2 separate regions of the Homo sapiens genome follow, and region 1 is linked to region 2. The links are contacts of gene promoters, found by promoter capture Hi-C in blood cells and fetal thymus (Javierre and others, 2016). All regions are on one chromosome and are shown on one strand. The core of a region is centred on a gene start or on the middle of the fragment in contact, and the rest is flanking DNA. Distances in the headings are between cores, read along the strand shown. Region 1 has its middle 76 kb from the start of TES. Region 2 holds the start of MET (MET proto-oncogene, receptor tyrosine kinase).

Region 1 (4,331 bases), core at 1,494-3,993, 540 kb after region 2:
ATTAATAGAGTTCATAATATTACTGCCTAAAAAGTCATATTCGTTACCAATGTCATTTTACTGTAGTCCCTCTCCTTTGTTTTTTCTGAGTAAATTAAATGCATGGCTTAAAAACCAAATTCCTATACACTGAGTACAATAATCAAGATACTTCTTGGTGATATAGAGAAACATATAGAAAGGATTGGTGTAATTGAACCAAAGAAAGTGTAGAGGTATGGAAAATAAATGAGTTATATACATACAAATAAGCTTTAAAAAGAGTCTTCTAATATTCACTGTGAGGAACTAGTCTTTGCAGAGAACCCTAAAAGCTAATTTTCTAAAGCAATTTTTTTGTATTAGTTTTTGTGATCATACACATTATAGAAAGGTAGTAACTAAATAAATATTATCTTAGTTTAATTGGATTAAAAATTAGAAATGCAAATTCTCCTCATACTATATCTATAAGCCCTCATCTCTGCTTTTATGGTAATACCCTTTTAATGGTTTAAGCCTATGAAGAAAAAACACTGAAGATTTTTAACTAGCCACTTTGCAGGGGGCAGAAAGGAGCAAAGAAGATTTAGTGGTGAAAAGAGCAAATAAATAGGTGCTCCAAGATTAAAAAGAGGGTAGAAGTGCATGCTGAGCTGTTGAAAGACCTCTCTGTGTTTAAAGAAAAATATTGTTTGGTGCTTTCACCAGTGCATGATCAAAATAAGAGGTACAAATTAGTTCATGGCTGCTGAAGCTACAAAACATCATGCAGAGCGCTGTCTTTGGGAACGTTTTAATGAGGAGAAGAGGTCATCAGAGTGTGACATTGCTTTTCAGAATTCTTCAAGAACAACACAGACTTCCTGTTCCAAATGTGGTAGAGAATAAAACAACCTTAGTAGTAATCGTACAACTTTTGAACCATGTTCCTTGGAAATGCTGTACCGTGCTCATTTTGTAGCTTTAGTTAGCTATCTCAAAGGAAACGCTTCCATATTTTCCATGTGCCCTTATTTCAAAAGTACAGTGAAACGGTGGAGCTTTAACATGGATTATATTTATAAAATAAAGTTTTATTCAGGCTTCTAAAGAGATTTTAATGTTTTCATTGCTCCAGGTGAAATGGTACACGGTGGCTCTGTTCATTAACATTTAGCATCAGTGCAAAAAAATCAAGGATTACCACATACAGCATAAAAGGAGGGATAGTATGACTTTGAAATTAAATTCACTACAATCTTAGTTTTGACGCATTTCAAAATGTGATTTTAAAATGTATAAGTTGTTAATGATATTCTAGGTCAAATATTCATAGTCCAATATCAAGTCCTACAGAGACTGGCATTATTCAAATGTGCAACGTATTTGAGCAGGAGCTGAAGAGGTTTTCCTGATGCTTTATAAATAAGACATTTATTTTAGTTTCAAAGGCCAGTATTATAACATTATTTAATACTTTAAGTATAATTGGTGCATTTATTTCCACTCTACCACAAAGCTATAGCATACCTTTTGTTTTCCATTAATATGAACATATTTGTAAGATGTGTATAATTAGAGAAAGTATTTGGGTTCATATACTTAATGCAGTTATCAAAAAAGGGCGAAGAAGACTTCTAATTTTTCGTATAGCAATGCTCACAGTCTTATTAACCTGTTTTCATGTAATTTTTTCCTTCAAAATAAATGATTCAAAACTAACCACATTTACTCTTGATATGTAAAAGTAATAAAAAGAAGTGAATAAAAAAAATTTCAGAGACCCAAAGGGAAGGGTTTGAACTAGAATTTAGGTGGAAAACAGGTCATTTCTGTGCATAGTAATGTTTCTGATTAGCTTTTAAGTAAGAGGTGATTCAATTTGTGTACAATGTGTAATTGATTTAGAAGCAGCAATATATGGTATACATTTTTCCTTCCCTCTTTCTTTTTATTCTTATTTTTTATATCTAGCATGAGAACAGAAGTCAAGCATAGACACCCTGCTTTAAATATGATAAAGGATAAAAGCTGTCATTCTAGTTTCACAGCTTTTCAACTATTTAATCTAAAAGTTTCTGAACTTACACAGATCATTTACTTGACTCAGTCTTTTATATTAATTTTATTTCTTTTAATGTATGCAGCCTTTGTTCTTAAATATTCTTATTCATAAACCAGACACATTTAAGTTGACATCCTTAGCATGTAGAATTTTTCTACAAAGACCTAGTGAGGCAGTTATTTTTAGCTTAAGCTTTTAGTCTGGATTGACTGGCCTGCTATCTCTTGGCTTGGTTTGCCAGCTTTTTCTGTCAGTGATTACACATCAGGAGCTTATGTTGATCTAATTTTTTTTTGTTGTTGCTATTGTTTTGCATTATTACTGCTCAGGACCTGTTCTTCTCTTTTACCTGCTTAACTAATTCAATAGTATTCTACTTCATAAACATCGCTCTCTAATCTTAAAGATGTCTTAGGCATCTAAAAAGCTGCTATTCATAAAGTTTTAGCGTTTACTACAGTACCATAGGTTAAGCTCTGAAAGATAACACAAGAACATGAGAAGTAAAGAGGTAAATTTTCTTTTTCTTTTAATTATTTCAAAGAAAATTCAGTCAGGAAAAAAAAGCTACATTTTTGGGAAATCAACAAGAGGGGCATGAAAAGTCTTTAATTTAAATGATTAAATTATGTTTCCCAGAAATCATTTATTGGCAAAGAATGTTTTTCCCCATCCCCCTACTTTTTTTTTTTTTTTCTGAGACAGAGTCTTGTTCTGTCACCCAGGCTGGAGTGCAGGGGCGTGATCTCAGCTCACTGCAATGTCCACTTTGTGGGGTTCCTCAGTCCCCTGTGTAGCTGGGAATACTGGCACACGCCACCACGTCTGGCTAATTTTTGTATTCTTAGTAGAGATGGGGTTTCACCCTGTTGGCCAAGCTGGTCTCGAACTCCTGGCCTCAAGTCATCTGCCTGCCTTGGCCCCCCAAAGTGCTGGGATTACAGGCATGAACCACCGTGCCTGGCCAGACTTTTCTAATTAAGGAAAGAATTATTTTCGTTTGGTACATAACACGTTTGTAGTTTTGTTGCCGAGAATCTAAACATAAGGTATTGTGAGGTAAACAAAAATTAAATCACTCTTTGTCATTATGTAACTTTTGAAAATTGACAAAAACTGAAAAGATTATAAGCAACTTAAAAATCGATGATAGCTTTTATTGCATACATTTATTTTCTTTTTAAGCACTGTAATAATTTATTTTCTAAAGTAGTCTTAAAACTGTTTTGAAGAAAAGCTTAAAAATTAATGAAACAAAGCTACAAAGTTGACAATGTATTGAAAAGAGGACAGATAAATGAGATAAAAGACAAAAAACACAATTGGTGAAATTTTATATGCATATTAATTAAAATATTCACTGTAAACATTCACAACAAAATTTAATGATGCTTTGCCATTTCAGGAAAAGATTTCTCACTTTTTTCCAGCTAACTAATATTCTATAGCTTGTTTAAAAGTTGTTTTAACGCTATAGTTCTCAAAGAATGTTCTATAGTTCCCGAGGTGTCTCCTAAAACATTTTATTGCTAAAATGTTATTTTCCATTTTCACAGTTTGAATATTTGCACTTACTGTGCAAAAGCAATGGTGAATAAATTGCATGTGCCTTTTTATGAATGAAGGCCGTGGCACCAAACCGCTAGTCAGTCATTATATTCTTCACTGCCATGCACTCACAGTTAAAGAAAACAATGCCAACTTTACTTAGGATTGCCTTTGATGAAGCTGTAAAAATTATTAACTTTATTAGACCTGATCCTTGAGCATATTCAGTTTTTCGAGAGTTATACTTAGCTGATAATATTCTAAGCTTTGATCTTTTTTGCATATTTAAAAAAATTCACTGTAGACCTGAATAGCCAACTACTTTACCTGATGCCAGACCCAAGAAGCAGAAATTTGTTCAAATCCTTAAGAAAACATTAAGAAATAGCATTTTTGAACAGTGCCATATAAACAACACTAAAGGATATGGTTTATGGTAGAGTTAGGGGATTTCCATGAGTAATTTTGATTACATACATTTCTTTGACTTATAGGCCAACTTTATGCACTAATTCCTTAAAATGATGCCGTTGGCTTCTCTGCAGTACATCTTATCACCTGCTATGCATGTTTTGCTGATCTAGGGGAAACAGCATACTTTATGATGGAAAGAAAAAAAGCCAACCATTCTGACCTCGCCATCAAATGTGCTTTACAGGCTTTTGGAGCATAAAGTGAAGCATAATGACCTAATATGATTATAGCAAGAGTAAAACTTCAAAGGAAAATTTTTAGGAGTGCAGAAAGTGGCAACAAT
Region 2 (4,744 bases), core at 835-3,334:
ATTGACTGGCTATGATTAATCTGGTACATTTTTTATCATGAAGATAAACTCCATCAACTAATTTTGAAAGCATGTAGTATACATCTAATGTAAACCCCTACTGCCATGTATCAAGAACAAAGCAATTTTGAAAAAGCAGTAGTCGGCAGACTGTCTTCTATATGCCACAAATTCCATCATGTTAAAAGCAAAATATATTTAAGTTAATAACTATAGCTTATACACCATTAAGTTTGAAAACGGAATAGAATTTTTAAAACAGCAGTACATTTTATAGGCTATCAGACACATTTTTGTACTACCAAAATTTCTTATGAATGATGTAAATTTTCCCTCTGTTATTCAGCAGTTCAAAAAGAATGAACATTGAATACACCACAGACTTGCAAATGATAGGAACCAAAGTACCTCACTTATGTTCCATTATGGAAGTTTACACGTTCAAAACAAAGCTCAATTAGCTTAGATCAAGGAAGGAAAGCTATGTACCTGTAAATAATCCAAGCACCACTTACACTGTTTACATAAAAATGCAATTTATGTCCCTGTAGCACAGAGAAACATGATGTACATCATTTTCAGATCATCTTCATGCAGAAAAAATTCATTAGTCAGCTATAATAGTTTAGCTGTAAGGGAATATAATGTTTTTCTGAATCCATTTGCATGGCAATGTGCATGTGTCTGGCTGATGAAAGCGACAGAATAAACCCCCACCCAAAGCTACAGAATGTGAACAGTCTTCTTAAAATTCAAGAGAGGGTCCAGATAGTCTATATTGCCTCCAACGTCAGTTCTTACAATCCTCTCACATTCATGGACCATCTTAACATAGCAATTAAAGTATCTTGATTATTTTGCCTAAGAGAGTTGACAATATTTCATTCTGCCCGAGGGCTCCTTTGAACATAAAACTGTGATAAGGTAAAATACACTGGGCAACTATTCATGCGTGAGCCATTGGAGCCCTCTCCAACTGCCAAATTAGCAAATGGCTCTTTTAAAACATGAAAGATATGAATGGGAAACCGTACTTCGGAGTAAATTCTGCATTGACAATAGTCAGGGAAAGTACTTTCACTGGTGCTTTAATTATCGGGTCAGCACTACGACTGGCCACATCGCTCAGCCTCTGGTTATAATCTATTTCACCTAATAAGATAGATGTCCACCACAAGCCCCAGAAAGAGATAAGGTACGATGGAAAATTGATGGATCACAAGCCCCGCGTGATTGCCAGAAATGAATTCAGACTTTCACAGAAACACCTGCCCCTTGGAAGGACCCCAACATAACACAGATAAAGCAAGGCTGGGAACAAGGAAACAGCTCGGCTCAAACCTTGCCAGCTGCATCACGGTGGGACGAGGATGACCGGATCCCTTTTGTAAGGGCTGAGTCAGATCCCAGCTTTAAAACTTGCTGGGCCGTAACAGTCACACATCACCCACTGTCCCAGCGCCCCTCTCCCTCCTAAGTCATACAGGTGGCCATCAGAAGCAACCCCCTAAAAAGACAAGCCCCATTCTAGTTTCGTCCTCGCCGTGGCCACGTCTCTTCAGTTTCCGAAGCCCCTAAACTCTAGCCCACCTACGTGGTTTTGCCCCCTGGAACAGCAGTCAGGTCTCTTAGGGGAACAAAGAAAGCAGAACCCCTGAGGCGAGGGATTGGGTACTGGATCTGAAAGGGGCTGCAATTTTACCTTTCGGTGCCCAGGAACCAGTGGAGAAGTCAGCGGCGCAAGGACCACACGCGCGCTCCGCGCCTCCCCGCCTCCTCTCAGCAAGTCAGCTGTCGCCCCGCATCTGGCTCGCGCCCTCCACTCGGCTCCGCATCTGCTCACAAAGCGCTCGGGGCGCCGCGGGCGGCGAGGGCCTCCGGGTCACCTGCGGCCGGGCTGAGCCCAGCGCCCCGCCCGCCCGCCGGCCGCACTCCCTCCGCCCCTTCCCACACGCGCGCTGCCCTGCCAGTGACTCAGCCGGGCATCGGCGCGCGCGGCCCGCGGCGGCCCGGGCGCGTTGGGGCCGGAGGCACCGCCAGGCGACCAGACTGAGGCGCTCGCCTGCCCGCCCCAGCACGTGTCTGTCTGCCTCGCGTGCTGTCCGTCCCCTAGTCCGCGGGTTCCGAGGACCGCTGAGGTGGGGACTGGCACCACCCAGAGGGAAATCGGCCCCCGCCCTTCCTGCCGTCCGCGCCGCGCCTGGCCCCGCGGGGGTCGCGTTTCCTCCCGCCTCTGCCCCGCCCACGACAAGGTGAAACTTTCTAGGTGGAGAAGTTTTCTCGCCCTGGCTGCGCGCTCTCCTCCCCCAGCTCAGGCAGTCTGAAGTTAGCACAGCCGGAGATAAGCGGGACCGAGTCTCCCCCTCCTGGCGCTTGGGAGGCGAGTGTCACCCCGGGCTCAGATGCAGGGCGCGCACCCTCCTGGCACCCCGCTCGCTGACCCCGGGAAGGGCGCGAGCTTTGCTCTCGGCCTCTCCCACGTCTCCGCTAACCGCCCCGCGCCCACCCGGGTTTAGAGAGATTTGGGCACCGCAGAAACAAGGAGTTCATTGTTAGAGGCGGAGGTAGAAGTGGATGGACGAATTGTCCCAATGATTTCATTATGCAACGATTATCCTCTACTATAATAACTCAAATTTCTGCAAGGAAGAACAACAGAGGAGTTTAACCCTGAGGAGACTTCCATTTCTTTTTTTCTTTTTTTTTTTTTCCATAGCCGGAAGCAGGCTGATTAAATAACTGGGCAAATAGCGATGAATAAGCACAACAGAACAAAAGTTTAATTCTTGAATGTTGAAATCTTATGATGATTTTTAAAAAAGAGCTTTTGGGGCCTCGGTGAACTCTATTAGGAGTAATTGTGTTGGGATAACTTTGTATTTCGCTATAAAAATTGGCACCTACAAGAGTAAATGAACACTCAAAGGTAATAGGATCTAAGGAACGGGCATTGCCGGTTAGAACTTGAGTTCGTTCCGGCTCTCATACCAACTTGTTCAATCATGGCAATAGATAATGAGACATAGATATCTTCGTTATTGAAAGTCATGGGTTAAAATAACAGTTACTATGCAGGTTCAGTTCTTATTTACTACAGAATGAAACATAGAAAAATGTAGTAAGAATAGTTATCATTTCCCAAGTGCCAGGCACTTGGAAATGATAATGTAACCAGAGGTTACATAAGAGTGATTTCAGTCCTCAAAAGAGATTACCTCTTGATTCCCCAGTTTTATGGAAAAGGAAAGTTCCCATTACGTTACTAAAGTCTTGCATTGAACCATTTTGCAGGTAAAGAAACTGAGTCCCTAAAAGTTCCCAGGAGAGTCACATAGCTGGTTAGTAAGAGGGGCAAAGTTAGAACTTAGCTTTCAGCCCAGTCAGGTGTCCTTCACACCATACCAAGAGGCCTCAGCAGGCTAAATAAACAACGCGGCCTGACTGGAGATTTCCTGATACGGCATGGCATAATTTATCAATGACTATAGCTCATTAAAAAACACTAATTTACTGGTAATAAGGCACTGGGCCTATTTATGGACAGATCAATTACAGATTTTGGGTTCAGTAACAGCTTTCAATAAAAGATGAATAAATTAATGAATTTAAAAAGTTTTACACACACACACACACACACACACACACACACACAGAGCCATAGTTGTCTAAAGGAATGATTAGAGTGCTGTTTCTATTTCCTGGTTTCCATAGCAATATGTTAACTGGATTTTTAGATCACATTATGTAGTTGCCTTAACAGGTTTTCTGAGTTTGAGTGCCATGATAAAAATATAAAAGAAAAAATTTACAATTAAAGTTGTAGAAAGACCCAGAAAAGCCAATGCAAACTGGAAAATAAAATAGATGATAAATACAAACAACCCGTTGTGTATTTTCAGCACTGAAACTTTCTAGTTTCTAATAACTAACAAAATTTCAATCCAGTTTTGAAACTGTATTGAAAATCATCATTTCATTTATCAACTGTAAATAAGGAGATAACATTTTATGAAATAACATAACTAACAATAGCATAACTAAAAGTATCTGGGTGTGTGAAGGTCAAGTAATTTTTACACACTACCTAGACAGATTTGATTGGGAAAATGTTTACAGATAATTTCAGATTTTTGGAAATGAATGGAAACAGATATTTTAAAAGGTAATAGGAGTTCTATAATTCAATTTTGGTTTTGCAGCAAACTTTTAATTGTTGCTATTTAACTTTCCTTGGGTTCATGTCATGGGTGATACACTGTATGATGAAGTTCTGTTGGTATTTTCTTAACCAAACCAAATCTCTTGTGGTCCACACTGTTGGCTGGCTAAGCCAGCATCTGTTCCCAACGAGATTTTCCTGTTCCTGCCTCCACTCTTGGGGCTTGAAAAGAGAAATATTTGCTTTCCCAGACTCCTTTGCAGCTAGACATGGCCATGTGATGTCATTCTGGTAATGAGGTATAAGTTGAAGTCTGATGGGGCCTTGTGGGAAAGGGTTTAAGGCTGGTGCCACCCCTTTTCCTTTCTTGCTTCTTGATTTCATATATGATGCCCAGTGAAGAACTAACCATCTTGTGACCAGCATGCAGAAGTTGGTGCTGACATTGCTGAGGTACAGCCCTACTGCCAGTAGACACCTGCTTCCAGATTTCTTGTTTTGTGGAAAAAAAACAAAAACAAAACTTGTTCTAGACACTGGTAGCTGGGACTTCTGTCACCTGCAGCTGAAAGCAATTAAAACTGA

The links. The method cuts DNA at HindIII sites, captures the fragments that hold promoters and counts their contacts. A CHiCAGO score of 5 or more calls a contact.
Region 1: a fragment that was not itself captured here is called in contact with the fragment with the promoter of MET in region 2 in 1 of 17 cell types (naive B cells); the score reaches 5.1 in naive B cells.

The regions. Positions count from the first base shown.
Region 1 is chr7:116,131,929-116,136,259 of GRCh38, reverse strand. It overlaps a transcript of TFEC not described here. Among named protein-coding and RNA genes, the nearest start is that of TES, 76 kb to the left of the region's middle. The HindIII fragment of the contact is 1,045 bases long and covers 2,221-3,265 here.
Region 2 is chr7:116,669,536-116,674,279 of GRCh38, reverse strand. MET (MET proto-oncogene, receptor tyrosine kinase) reads right to left here and starts at 2,084. Exons shown (of 21, transcript NM_000245.4): 1 at 1,703-2,084. All of the region lies in intron 1 of COMETT (cytosolic oncogenic antisense to MET transcript), which reads left to right. RefSeq lists silencers at 1,917-2,106, 2,167-2,296, 2,427-2,476. The HindIII fragment of the contact is 13,748 bases long and covers 1-4,744 here.